Linked DNA regions of Homo sapiens: region 1 is linked to region 2. Evidence: promoter capture Hi-C in 16 types of primary human blood cells and fetal thymus (Javierre and others, 2016). All regions are on one chromosome and are shown on one strand. Each heading gives the region's core, a stretch centred on a gene start or on the middle of the fragment in contact. The rest is flanking DNA. Distances are from core to core; before and after follow the strand shown.

What was found. Contacts are between HindIII fragments. The CHiCAGO score rates a contact against its expected background, and 5 or more counts as called.
Region 1: a fragment that was not itself captured here is called in contact with the fragment with the promoter of MC2R in region 2 in 1 of 17 cell types (M2 macrophages); the score reaches 5.5 in M2 macrophages.

What each region holds. Positions count from the first base shown.
Region 1 is chr18:14,052,584-14,058,821 of GRCh38, forward strand. It overlaps the pseudogene LOC100128776. Among named protein-coding and RNA genes, the nearest start is that of ZNF519, 77 kb to the right of the region's middle. The HindIII fragment of the contact is 1,504 bases long and covers 2,771-4,274 here.
Region 2 is chr18:13,911,474-13,917,304 of GRCh38, forward strand. It overlaps MC2R (melanocortin 2 receptor), which reads right to left and starts at 4,063. Exons shown (of 2, transcript NM_000529.2): 1 at 4,015-4,063. The HindIII fragment of the contact is 17,945 bases long and covers 1,666-5,831 here.

The DNA of each region.
Region 1 (6,238 bases), core at 2,273-4,772, 140 kb after region 2:
GGAATGGGCTACTTTACTTTCATATGTTTGTTTTTAACATAGTGATTTCTAAGACTGGTTTCTCCTTAGCTCTTTTCAGACTAACCATTTCTATATGAAGGAGCCCAAAGCTCCCTAAATGTCTCTGACATGCCATGTTCATCTTTGTGCATTTATAGAATGTTTTGGTTTTGCTGTTTGCACAGGCTTCAGTTGAGCATCTCTGTTCTGCTTTCCTATGTGAGCTCCACTTGAATGCGTCAAGCTGCATTTTGGAGTATGCCTGAAAGTTAACACCATTACAGCAAAAGGGTAACTTTTCACTTAAAAGAAGCTATAAGTTGATTATAAATTATTTTTTAGAAAACAAGAGTGTATTTTAAAAAAACTTATTAATATTAAATGAGAAAACTTCCAAAAAGCTAAATAATTTCTTCTCCAGTTCAGAAAATTTATTAGCTTAAAGCCAGAATAAAAGCTTGAGGATCTGCTTGATCATGTCTGCTGTTTAACCCCTCTCTTGAATTTTTTTATTTCAGTTATTATATTTTAGCTCTATAATTTTAGTTTATTTCTATTTTATAATTTTTTTTAAAAAAAATATCATTTCTCTGAAATTTTTAGCTGTTTATCTATGTTCTTTGTAACTCACCGAGCTTCTTTAAGATTTTTAAAAATTGCTTTTGGTAAGGTAATTCATTAACTCCATTTTTAAAGAATCAGTTACTAAAGATTCACTTCATTCTTTTTGATTGGGTCATCTTCCCCTGATTCTTGATGTTTGTTGTAGTTTGTGGTGGTATCTGTATATTCGAAGAAGCAGTCCCATCTCCCAGCATTTACAGATTGCTTTAGCAGGAAAAAATCTTCACCCATCAACCTTGGTACAGATTCCGAGAGCTTGTCAAATATTTTCTGTAAGTTTGTCTTCTCTGAGTTGAACATGTAGTTTCTTAACTACAGGGATTTACTGGGTTCACCCCCAACACAGGACCATAATTTCTTCCTCACTTTGGTATCTGACTGCTGTACTATGGGCCAGAACGTTGGTGGCATGCCAGTTACGTGTGTTCACACTCTGTTAGATGTGTGGCAGGCCAGGAATGAATCAGCAAATAATCTCTTTCCCAACATTTAAACTAATTTATTTCATTCTCCACTAGTAATGGTTTAGCCGAGAAGGAATGTGAAAGACTTTTTCATCAATCCCATGGCCTTGGTGGAGAAGTAACTCCCTGGTGAACTGTGTGTGTGACCACAATGGGCTGAGGCATGTGGACAACGCTGGAGGCAGAGCTGAGTGTGAGCAGAGGCTCACAGTGAGGCAGGGGCATCAGCATTGAGTCCAATCAACCCATCAGGACACCTGCTGCATGGAGGTTGTGAGCACTGAGGTGCTGAAGAGGCTCTCACTCTGTCTAAGAGAGTGTCCCGAGCAAGACAAGCAGTCCTAGATGCCCAGATTCTTGTTTTGGCTTCGGATCTGGGCAAAGGGAAAGCAAAGCAGCTGTGCTCAGATCTGAACTTGTTGGACATGTTGTGTTGAAACTTTACTGACATGTATGGGTGTAAATCTGCCAGAAGCTGAAGAACTCATCCGTGATGAAGATAGCTCTGATTTGAATTCATAGTCTATGACTCCTGGAAAATATCAGGCAAAAGAGCAGAAAACACCTTTAATCAAGCCCATACACTCCACTCTCTGTTGGATTCAACACAAGGAGAGTTCCTTGTGCCAAAGTCCCAAATCATTAGTCCAAGAAAACTTCCTATGATACAAAAGGAGACGATAATGCCTGCCCAGTTAAAAAGAAGGGAAGAATCTCATCAAGAAACAACAAAGAAAGAAGTAGAAAGAATCTTGGGATTGTTGCAGTTGTATATTCGAGATGCTACCCAGCGTCCTTCTTTGCCTTTGTGGTTGATCCACAATCTTTCCCCCAAACAGTGGAAAACATCTTTCATGTTTCCTTCATTATACAGGATGGTTTTGCAAGAGTAAAACCTGACCAAGACCGACTGCAAATAATAGAGCCTGTTAATATTAATGAAGAAAGTGAGGAAATTCACCAAAACACCCAAGTTAGGAATCGAGGAATTCTAGCTGTGAGGTACCCTGACTGGGAGGAGATTGTGAATACCTTTGAGATTTCAAAGCCTGGGATTACTCCAAGTCAGAGACAGCAGAGGCTAAGTGCTTGACGCTAGCTGAAGGACTCAAATGGATAGTGAAGTCCAAGAGGGAAAGAAGCATGTATTATATACAGTGTATGATTCAACATTTAAAAAGACAGATTGTTTTTAGTAAAATGTAGCTTTTGATATTTAATGAATTTGTCATGGTTGTTTTTGATTACAGGAAATTCACTGCCATATTAAAAAAAAAAAGCTGCCACACTTTTTTCCCATAGTGGCTATATCATTTTAAATAAATTACCACCAGCAATATGAGTGATCCAGTTTCTCCACATGCTCACCAGTATTTGGTACATTTTCCGTATTTTGCTTAAAGCATTCTGGTAAATTTGCCATAATATTGCAGTATGATTTCAATTTGCATCTCCGAGAAATAGCTAACATATTTTCATGTGGATACTTGCCATCTCCATCTCCTCCTCAGGGAAATGTCACTTCACATCTGTTACCTAATGTAATTGAGTTTTTCCCCACTGTGGCATTCGGAGTGTTTTTCACATGTTCTGGATACTACCCTTTGTCAGATATGCAGCTGGCCAATACTTCCTTACGTCTGTAGTATGTTACTTTATCCCTTTAAAGGGGACTTCCACAAAGCTTAGTTTTCTAATTTTGATGAATTCCAATTTACTCTTTGGTTGCTTTCTCTCTCTCTCTTTCTCTGTCAAGGAGAACTTTGGAAAACACTGTTATATATTTTGTAGGAATGTAAGATTAAACTTTATTTCTAAGACATATTTTCTTTCCATTAAAAAAACAAGGTTTTACTGAAAAATTTAAAACTAATTTATGTATTTACATGTATTTTTAATTACCTATACTACTAGAAGGCACTTTTCAAATAAGTATCAGTATTTTAAGAATGTAAAAGAAAAAATTAAACATGCTGAATAAAAATTTATAGTTAAAATCTATCCCATCCCTAATATACAGGAGTTTGAATATAAATTAGTAAAGTTTTAGTCTAAAATGACTAGATAGTATAATAATATCTATCTTGAGAACTGATACAGCAAGTAAATGAAAATCAGTTTATAAAGAGAATGGAGTAGGGGACCTAATGTCATTTAAGCCTCTCTTGTTTTACAGAAAATCAATTTTTGTAAGTCACCAAATAAAAAATAAACATACTAAGAAGAATGTTTCTCCATTACATTGTAAAGAAAACAATCTTCTGAGCTGGAGGACTGTAAGACCTGGATGTGTAACCTGAGACTATCAAAATAACTCATTTGTAGACCATTTGACTTCCTTCCACAGCCCGCCTAGCATGTACAAACACCCACTGATTGAAAATCTGTGGAATAGTCACTTTCAAGTAAAAGAGGCGCACATGAAGGTGTACAATGTGATTTTTGTAATTTTTATGAAGTTGAAGAACTGTCAAAAATGATGTATAAAATAAAAATCAAAACAGGGCTGTGTATGGTAGAGTGGGTGGGCCTGTCTGAAATGTCAGAGGGGATTTTCTGTGCTGATATGATCCATATATTAATAGGGCTGTTGGATACTGTAAGGAATATAAAGTTATAAAAATCTGTAAAGTCATTGACAGATAACATCTGCACATTTCACTATAGTTTAATTTTGTGTTAAGATAAAACAATAAGATGGAAAGGAGAATGATCATCAAATTGTAATGGAGATAAGTATATTTCATTCACAAATTTCCCCTGCCAGTGACCATAAAATTGACCAATCCAGAATGCTAGCTACTAGTAGGGTTCGAGGCAGAATGTTGGGGTGTACCTTGGGGTTTGTTGTGGCAGCTGGACCCACGGTTACTGGGCAGAGCTCTGTGGTGGCTGCAGTGCCATGGAGAGTCTGAGATCCTCTGTGGACCTGGGCCCTGGACTGACCCTTCAGAAGCTGGGCAAGGTGGTGGTGGAGCTCCTGCCACATGATCTCAGTCCACAACTCACTGTCCACAAACTCCAGGTGGAGACACTGGTGTGTTTGCCTCTCATCGGGTTATTGGTGGGTCTCATGGTTTTATTGAGGCTTGTTCAGTCTGTTAGGGGTCAACTTTGTGTAAAGCGTGGAAACAACTGTGGAAACACTAAATTCACAGATTGAAAAGAAATGCCAACTCACTAACAAGCTTAGTGCTACCAGTAAGGAGTTTGCAGAGATTGAATTATCTTTAGAGAATGTCAGGGTAGATAGAGTCTTTAAATATACCCAGACTTAGGATACTTAAAAAAAAAATGAGGAGCACCAACTTGATGCTGATGGAGGAATTCAATTCTCTGTTTCGAGAATTGAAAGAGAGATCCAAACTCTCCAAGCAATAAGAGGCAAAGGAGGAGATGCCAAAAATGGTGGAGTCTGTAGAAGAGGTCATGAGATAAGTATATTTCATTCACAAATTTCCCCTGTCTGTGACCATAAAATTGACCAATCCAGAATGCCAGCTACTAGGAGGGTTCCAGGCAGAATGTTGGGGTGTCCCTTGGGGTTTGTGGCAGCTGGACCCATGGTTACTGGGCAGAGCCCATCACAAGGGGCTTTTCTAAACCTGCTTGGAGGAGAAGCACCAAATCCTGCTGCTCTCTTCTCAGGAGTGGACGTGGGTCTTAAATCCGTGCTGCTCCCTCCCCTCCCCTTGGGCCTCATGGGCTGCCAGGCTGCGTATACCCACCTTGACTCCTTCTGAGGGTCACTGAGGCCAGTTGGTTCAGGGGAGCTCCTCACTGGGCTGGAATTCCTCCACCTTCACATGCTGTTCATAGCAGTCAGCTTCTTCACGGTAAACTCCTTCAAATATAAAGAATATAGGAGATCCTGCAACATGTCAAGAAATGTGTGACTTTCTTTCCTTTCACAGAGAGTTTGGATTCTTTCTCATTAGCAGTGAAAGAAATGCTGTACTTGAGAGCCTAATCTTTTATTCAAATTGAAGCATCATCCAACTACATTTCTCAGTATAATGCTCTGTAAATATTCATAAATTAATAATTGAACAATTCCTATTTTATTCTCTAAATAGTTACACTTTAAAAATACAAGCAGTTTTCAATCAAGACTTTATCAATTTTTTAAATTATATTCCCAACCGTTATAAATCACAAGTTAGAGCATCATTTTTTGACCTCAGTATATATTCATATTTTAAAAGTTAATAAATATATTTTGGGATAAAGTGGAAGGGTATGCTTAGAAAGTTAAATTAATTAATATTTATATTCAAATATAATAACAAATATTTTTAAGAATGATCTCATCATCCAGGTACTGAGCACAGTACCCAATAGTTAGTTTTTCAACCCTTGCTGCCTCCCTCCCACCTCTAGTTGTCATTGGTTTCTACTGCTGCCTTCTTTATTTCCATGAGTACCCAATGTTTAGCTCTCACTTATAAATGAGAAAATGTGGCATTTGGTTTTCTGTTCTTGCATTAACTCACTTAGGATAATGGCCACCAGCTGCATCCGTGCTGCTGCAGAGGACATGATTTTGTTCTCTTCTGTGGTGTGTAGTATTGCATGGTGCTTATGTATCACATTTTCTTTATCCAGTCCACCACTGATGAGCACTGAGGTTGATTCTATTCTTTGTTGTTGTGAATACTGCTGCAATGAACATGCAAGTGCATGTGTCTTTTTGGTAGAACAATTTGTTTTCTTTGGGATACAAGCCCAGTAATGGGATTGTTCGGTGAAAATATACTTCTGTTACAGATTCTTTTAGAAATCTCCAAACTGATTTTCACAGTAGATGAACTAATTTACACTCCCACCAACAATGTATAAACATTCCCTTTTCTCCACTGCCTTACCAGGATCTTTTTTTTTTTTTTTTTTTGACTTTTTGATAGTAGCCATTCTGACTGGTTTGAGATGGCTTTCATTGTGGTCTTGATTTGCATTTCTCTGATTAGTGATGTGGAGCATTTTTTCACGTTTGTTGGCTGCTTGTATGTCTTCTTTTGAAAAGTGTCTGTCATGTCTTTTACCCATTTTTTTAATGGCAATGGGTTATTTGTTTTCTGCTTGCTCGTTTGTTTAGGTTCCTTATAGATTCTGGGTATTAGGCCTTTGTCAGATGCATAGTTAGTGAATAT
Region 2 (5,831 bases), core at 2,813-5,312:
CTGCTTTTTCTCCCAGATGAAGGCTTTAAAATTTGCTGGGTATCTTTGGACGAGTGCCTGGAAGACTTCTCTGCCTTACCTAGCTCCTATTCGCCCCACCTTTAAAAAGTGGCCGAGTCCAGCCCAATCAGACCCCAGGGCCACCATGAGTGCAGCGGGTAGCTTTGGCTTCTGGACCTTGCTCTGGAGTCACTGGCTTTGCGCCATCTATGACAGGGTCTCCATCCTAGGGTCTGGGGGATGTTAACTGGGAAAAAGGAGATTGGGGCATATGAGGAGGGCAGGAGGAAGAAAGATTTAAGATCTTTTGGGGGCTTTAATCCAAGTAATCACTTAAAGAATTGGCAGTTTTTAGCACCTCTAGGATCCAATTTTAGGTTATATGTCATTGGAAATCCAAAAGATACAGGAAACACCGTACTGCCTATGAACATCTAGCTGAGGAGGTAAGACATGCACAGCTGAGAAAGAGGACAGGTGAGCCTTTGGTCACTTGCAAATTGGGGTCAGAACTGCTCCATGGTGTGGATGGCATGGAAAAGAATTGGCTTCACTTACGAGTGCTTTAGGTAATTCATTCTGTACTGTGTTGGGCCCACAATGCATGTTCAGCAATTTTACTTAATACTCAACCAGGTAAAACAGCAGATTCCAGGATACCTCAGCACATCCTTACAATTCTGCACTTTAAGGGCAATTTGATTTTGCCATGGTTTCTCTTGCAATGTTAAAGGTTGGAGACAGGGCAGAGTGAAAGGTATTCTCTCTTAATGCTCCAGTTACACATAAAGGGTAGGTGTTCCTATTTCCTGCTCCCCTGCCTATATTATAGATAAGAAAACGGAGGCTCAGGGAGGTTGGGTTACTTGCTTAAGGTCACCCAGCTGCGAATCTGCCTCATTCCAAGGTCTGTGCTCGCTTGGTTATTCCAAAGAGCCTGAGAGGCTGAGTGTTTGGAAGCAGGACAAGCCTAGCTCTGAAACAGGTATGGGTAGGAGGACCGGGTCAGGTTGGGCCAAGAGCTGTGGGAGGAGCTGGGAACTGAGGGGCTCAGGACTCTGAGGCTGTTTTGGTGCTAAATAAAACAAAATAACAACATAGCACCATAATAAAACTTGTAGATTATTATTAATCAATTAATCAATACTCTGTTGAAATAGGAAAAATTCAAGGACAGATGAATTTCTACGTTGTTTTCTGCTCCCGGACCATCCCAACTGCTTTGCTAGGGCCCAGTCACTGTCTCCAGCTGAAGTCAGTTTTCCTTGAACTTACTGATGTTGATCTTACAGAGTTATAAGTTACGCTTATCACTGTGAAGACTGGCTGCAGCCAGCAGAGCTCGCTATGGTAGGCAATGGCTCATCTGAATCCAGCGCACATCTTGTTTTGAATTCCGCATAGGCTCAATTATGAGAGGCCTTCAAGGGAGCCTTATTTTGGGGGTGGCTTTATTCTTTTTCCCCATGCCGGGCACAGGCAGAAGCATCTCTCGGTGTGATCATCTTGCAGGCCGCTGGGCAGGTTTACAGCTTTTCCGACACTTCACAGAGAACTGCTGCTTACAGTATAATTTCTTTTTTAATATACACAAGACTGGAAATTAGGCATGAATGACAATGTGATCACATCTTAGGACGAGCGAAGGAAAGTCCCGAGAATGGAAGCTTTTGCAGGAGCTCACAGCTAGGGAGGCATGAAGCCCAGGCTGGAGTGTTCTGGTTGGAAATCAGTGTGATGCTCAGCTCCCTGCACAGCCTCACCTGGACCACCACCTTCCACCCGCTCACATCTCCCGTCCTCTGAGCTTCACTGCTCATGGCAGGCTTCCTCCACGGTGCCTTCCTGCCAGTGTGACCCACTCGGACCTTTCCCTGCCACGGCTGTGCTGCTCACACAAACGCTTGCTGCCCCCAGGTTTTGATGCTGGGACACCTACTAGGTTGATTAGTCTCTGTAGTTTGCACATGTTGTTCTCCCACCAAGTCAGGCTCTGTGCGTTACCCATGCTGCTAGCACAGCGCTTGGCACACGCATATTTTGAGTTGAGAACTTACTTTAAAACCATCTTCCAAATTTTGTACCCTGGCGGCTCATAGTCAGAGAACAGAGAAGTTAAGACTTTAGGACTCCACCACACTTTAAGGCCCACTGGGTGGGTCTGCACCAGCGCTTGCCTGTCTGTTCACACGTTCTCTCTCCCTGGGCCTGGACACGTCCTTCCTCACTTCTCACACTCAGCACTGTGTCCTTGCCCAAGTACAGACTCTCTTCCACTGCCCCCGCATCCCAAGGGAGCCCAGGATTGCTGCCCGTCTATGCACCTGTAGCTGTTTGTTCTTATTTCTACAACGGCATTATTCACATGAAAACCCTGCAGATGGATCTGAGTTCCTTAGGATAAGACCTGCCCTGACCATGTCTGAGGCTGAGCCCTGCAGACAACCTGGCCCACAGCAATTATATTTGCCTAATGAAGGCAAGGAATGTGGCTTACACAGACAAGAAAGCTCTCATTAAAATGTATTAGACACTAAGGATTCCATAGGAAACATACCTGGGATCATTAACAAGGTAAAGAATAGGATTTTTTTTTTTTTTTAAGATGTCTTAAGTTGCTCTGAGGCAGTGAGAGGGCAATTTGCTGCTGAGCAAAAACCTCCTCTGCCAGAGATTCAGGATCCACTGAGAAGTCAGGATGGCTTTGGAGCTTATCTACCCCATTACCCTGGTTCATGCCCTCCTCCACCCCTGCCGCGGCCTAAGCGGTGTCCCAAAGGCAGGGTGAGGGCTCCCGTCTCCCTGCTCCCACAGCTCTTTGTGGGTGTGTGTCCTGTCTGGGAGCTAGTGTGAAGTGTTGTCTCAGTGTGCGCTGTCCTCAGCGCCGGGGCTCCAGGAGGCTCCACTCTGACTTAGGCTTGCAACAAGGCCCAGCACATAAGGGTTCGGTACAGCTTGATCTAGGCATGAATGTGTGAGCAGAGCCTGTGACCACCGCTTCACTCCCACTCCGGGGATGGGGTGGGGAGGGCATGTGAGGAGCACTCCTCCTTCTGATCTGCTCAAGGCTGTACTCTCTGGACCCCTTTGTACCCCTTTCCCATTCCTATCCCTTTTGGACTTTTTGCATGCATGTATGTATGTATGTTTACAAGTGTGCACGTGTATGTGTGTATATGTGTGTGTATGAGTGTGTGTGTGTAAGTGAAGAATGGGGACAGTTATCTGAAGGCAGCTTAGACAAACTGAAATATGAAGAAGAGCTGTTTAATCGAATGCCTGGGCCTCTTTTCTAGGTAACATGTGCCCCCCGACAGAGCCAGCCAAAGGAAGGTGTGAGCCCCTCATGATGGCAGTGACTGCATGCTTTCTGGGTGCAAACACTTTGCAGGAGTATGTGATAATCAGTATGCTTTTAGTTATTGTTTATCCTGCACCCCGTGTTGCTGCCTAGGAAGGTGGAGGCTGACTGAGCTAGTGGTTGAGAAAGGCACAGAAAGTGTGCGTGCATCTCCCAGAACTGTAACGTCACACGTGTGGATGGTGGAGTTGCTTAGACACCAATGCCTGAGGTTCAGGAAGCTGCCGCATGCCCACGTCTTTGTGGCGCTAAAACCCCCGCACTCTTACACCTAGACAAGCTGATCAGGTGAAGGGGCTAACTCCAGAAGTGATAATAGAAGCATGATTTGTTTCACCCCTAATTCTATTAGGAAAAAACTGGCTGTAGTCCTTGAATAGAGCTCAATGACAATTTGAAGAGTACTAGAGAAGCCAATAAATTCATTAATAGGGAAGATTGTTTTAGCTAGACAAAAAGGTAATAGCCTTCATTGTAGTAGTTTAATTAGAAAAATAATAAACTCCCTTAGGAAGGATGAAAGCCCATAATTAAAAAGATGAGCTATTTGGAGGAATTCTGAATAGTACCTCTTCTCAGATTTGTTCCTAGCTGCTCTATTCATGGTCCAAAAGCACTTAGCAAGCTGAGGAATTAGTGGAAAATGTACTTACCTTCAGCTCTGAAGCAGGAACTTTCTGGGCAAAATGAATGAGAAGGAATGAGCTCGGAGAGAAAAGCAAGCAAGTGGACCTTGGGCCGGGAAGGGCCGGAACACATGCATCACCGGAGATACAGCTAGATTGTTATCATTACCTTGAATAAATGTCATCCCACATGAACTGTGCATTTCTGGTAATGTGAAGTTAGAGAAATGGAAAGACACAGGCAGATGAAGACATAATTTCCATGAGCTCAGCTAGTCAAGGTTACTTCCAATGTTTATGACAATGTTTCTAGCAGATTATGGAATTGTCATCTTGCTCTTTTTAAATGCCACTTTAGAGTTGCATTTATTTCCAAAAAGAACTAAGGAATTAAATAAATCAGGTTTTTGAGAAAATGGTTTTGGAAGAATTTGTTTTAAAACTTCTAGCAAACTTCTTGATATATCTTGCAAATATTTGGCTCATTAGTTTCATTAAGAAGAAGGGAATAGCCCCATTATCCCTATTTCACAAGACTAAACAATGAGAGTGAGGGAACTGTGTGCTCAAGTGCACATATGACGCATGGGTCCAGACAAGAAAAAAACCCTGTGTTCTGCCAATGCTTCTCCGTCCAAAAACTTCACAGAAACCGCCATAGATAAGAGCCATCATTCAAAGCAAAATTCTTCCATTTTAGGGTGCAATGCTGTGTGTTTTCTGCCTGCCGGGGCCTGCAGGGAAGGGCTACTGTTGGTGTCAGTCACAGCAACAGGAATGTTGAAGTGTGGAATTGGGCCAAGTTTCCAGATGGTCCTGGGTTTTTGGGGCTGGGGCCAAACCAGTGGCTGTTTCTGAAATGTGAGCTTCCGCCCCAAGCTAAAAAGTGTTCACACGTGGGTGGTCTGGAAAAGACCAAAGAGAGAGACCTGAGTTGAATTTGCCAGGCGGGTAAACACAATTTTATAAAGTGGCTTTTCCTGGCCTGTCACTGAGGCAAAGCGTGTTGTCCCCAGGAACTCATGGACCCAGGATCATCCCAGACTTCGACTGTTTCTGAGTAGGTGTGTGCCTCCGCAACATGCCCTGCAGCTGAAACCCGGCGTTCCACAGGCCTCTTTCCCTCTTCAGTCATGTAGTTGAGATAACAGAGAAAAGCAAGGCATTGCCTCCAGAAAGCTACTGTATTATCTGGAAAAGTAGAGACAACTCGTCCTTAGCCCTTGTACTTGCAGAAGCAGAGGCCCTTTGTCAGAGATCTGTGGATCTGATTAGCTGATTGGGAAAACCGGTGGCCAGCCCTGGGGAGTGGGACATCAGGCAGGCTGCAGACAATGGGAACACTGTCTGGAGGAGGCGAGCCTCGGCCAGTCCCCTGGGTGGGACCTGGGCCACTCTGATTGGGAGGGACAGGGAGAGACTTCCAGCAGGGGGAAGGTTGCCTAGGGGTTTGGCTAAGCCCTGCAAAGAGAGTAGCTATTGCTATTTTAGTTCTTCCATTTTGGGGGCTCATCTCTCTCCAATTTTTAGAGAAAAGGGGGCAAAAATCTCTTGGAAGGAGCAGAGTAGAAATGACAGAGTTTAGAACCAGAAGACACGCGGTCAGAGTTCTGAGTGCCAGGCCTCTAGGACTCCATTGCCTGGTGTAAAGCGGGCTGTTGTGAGAATTCAGACTAGGTTTGTAACAGTGCTCAGGGAAATCTAAAACCATATGCCAATACCTATGGTTTTTGTTATAACCCTGTCCAAACACTCTTGAAATAGTGGTATTTTAAAAGAAATATCTTTGCTGTAGGGAAACCCATTCAGCTGGTGATCATTGGAAAGCAAACTTGTAAGTGGAG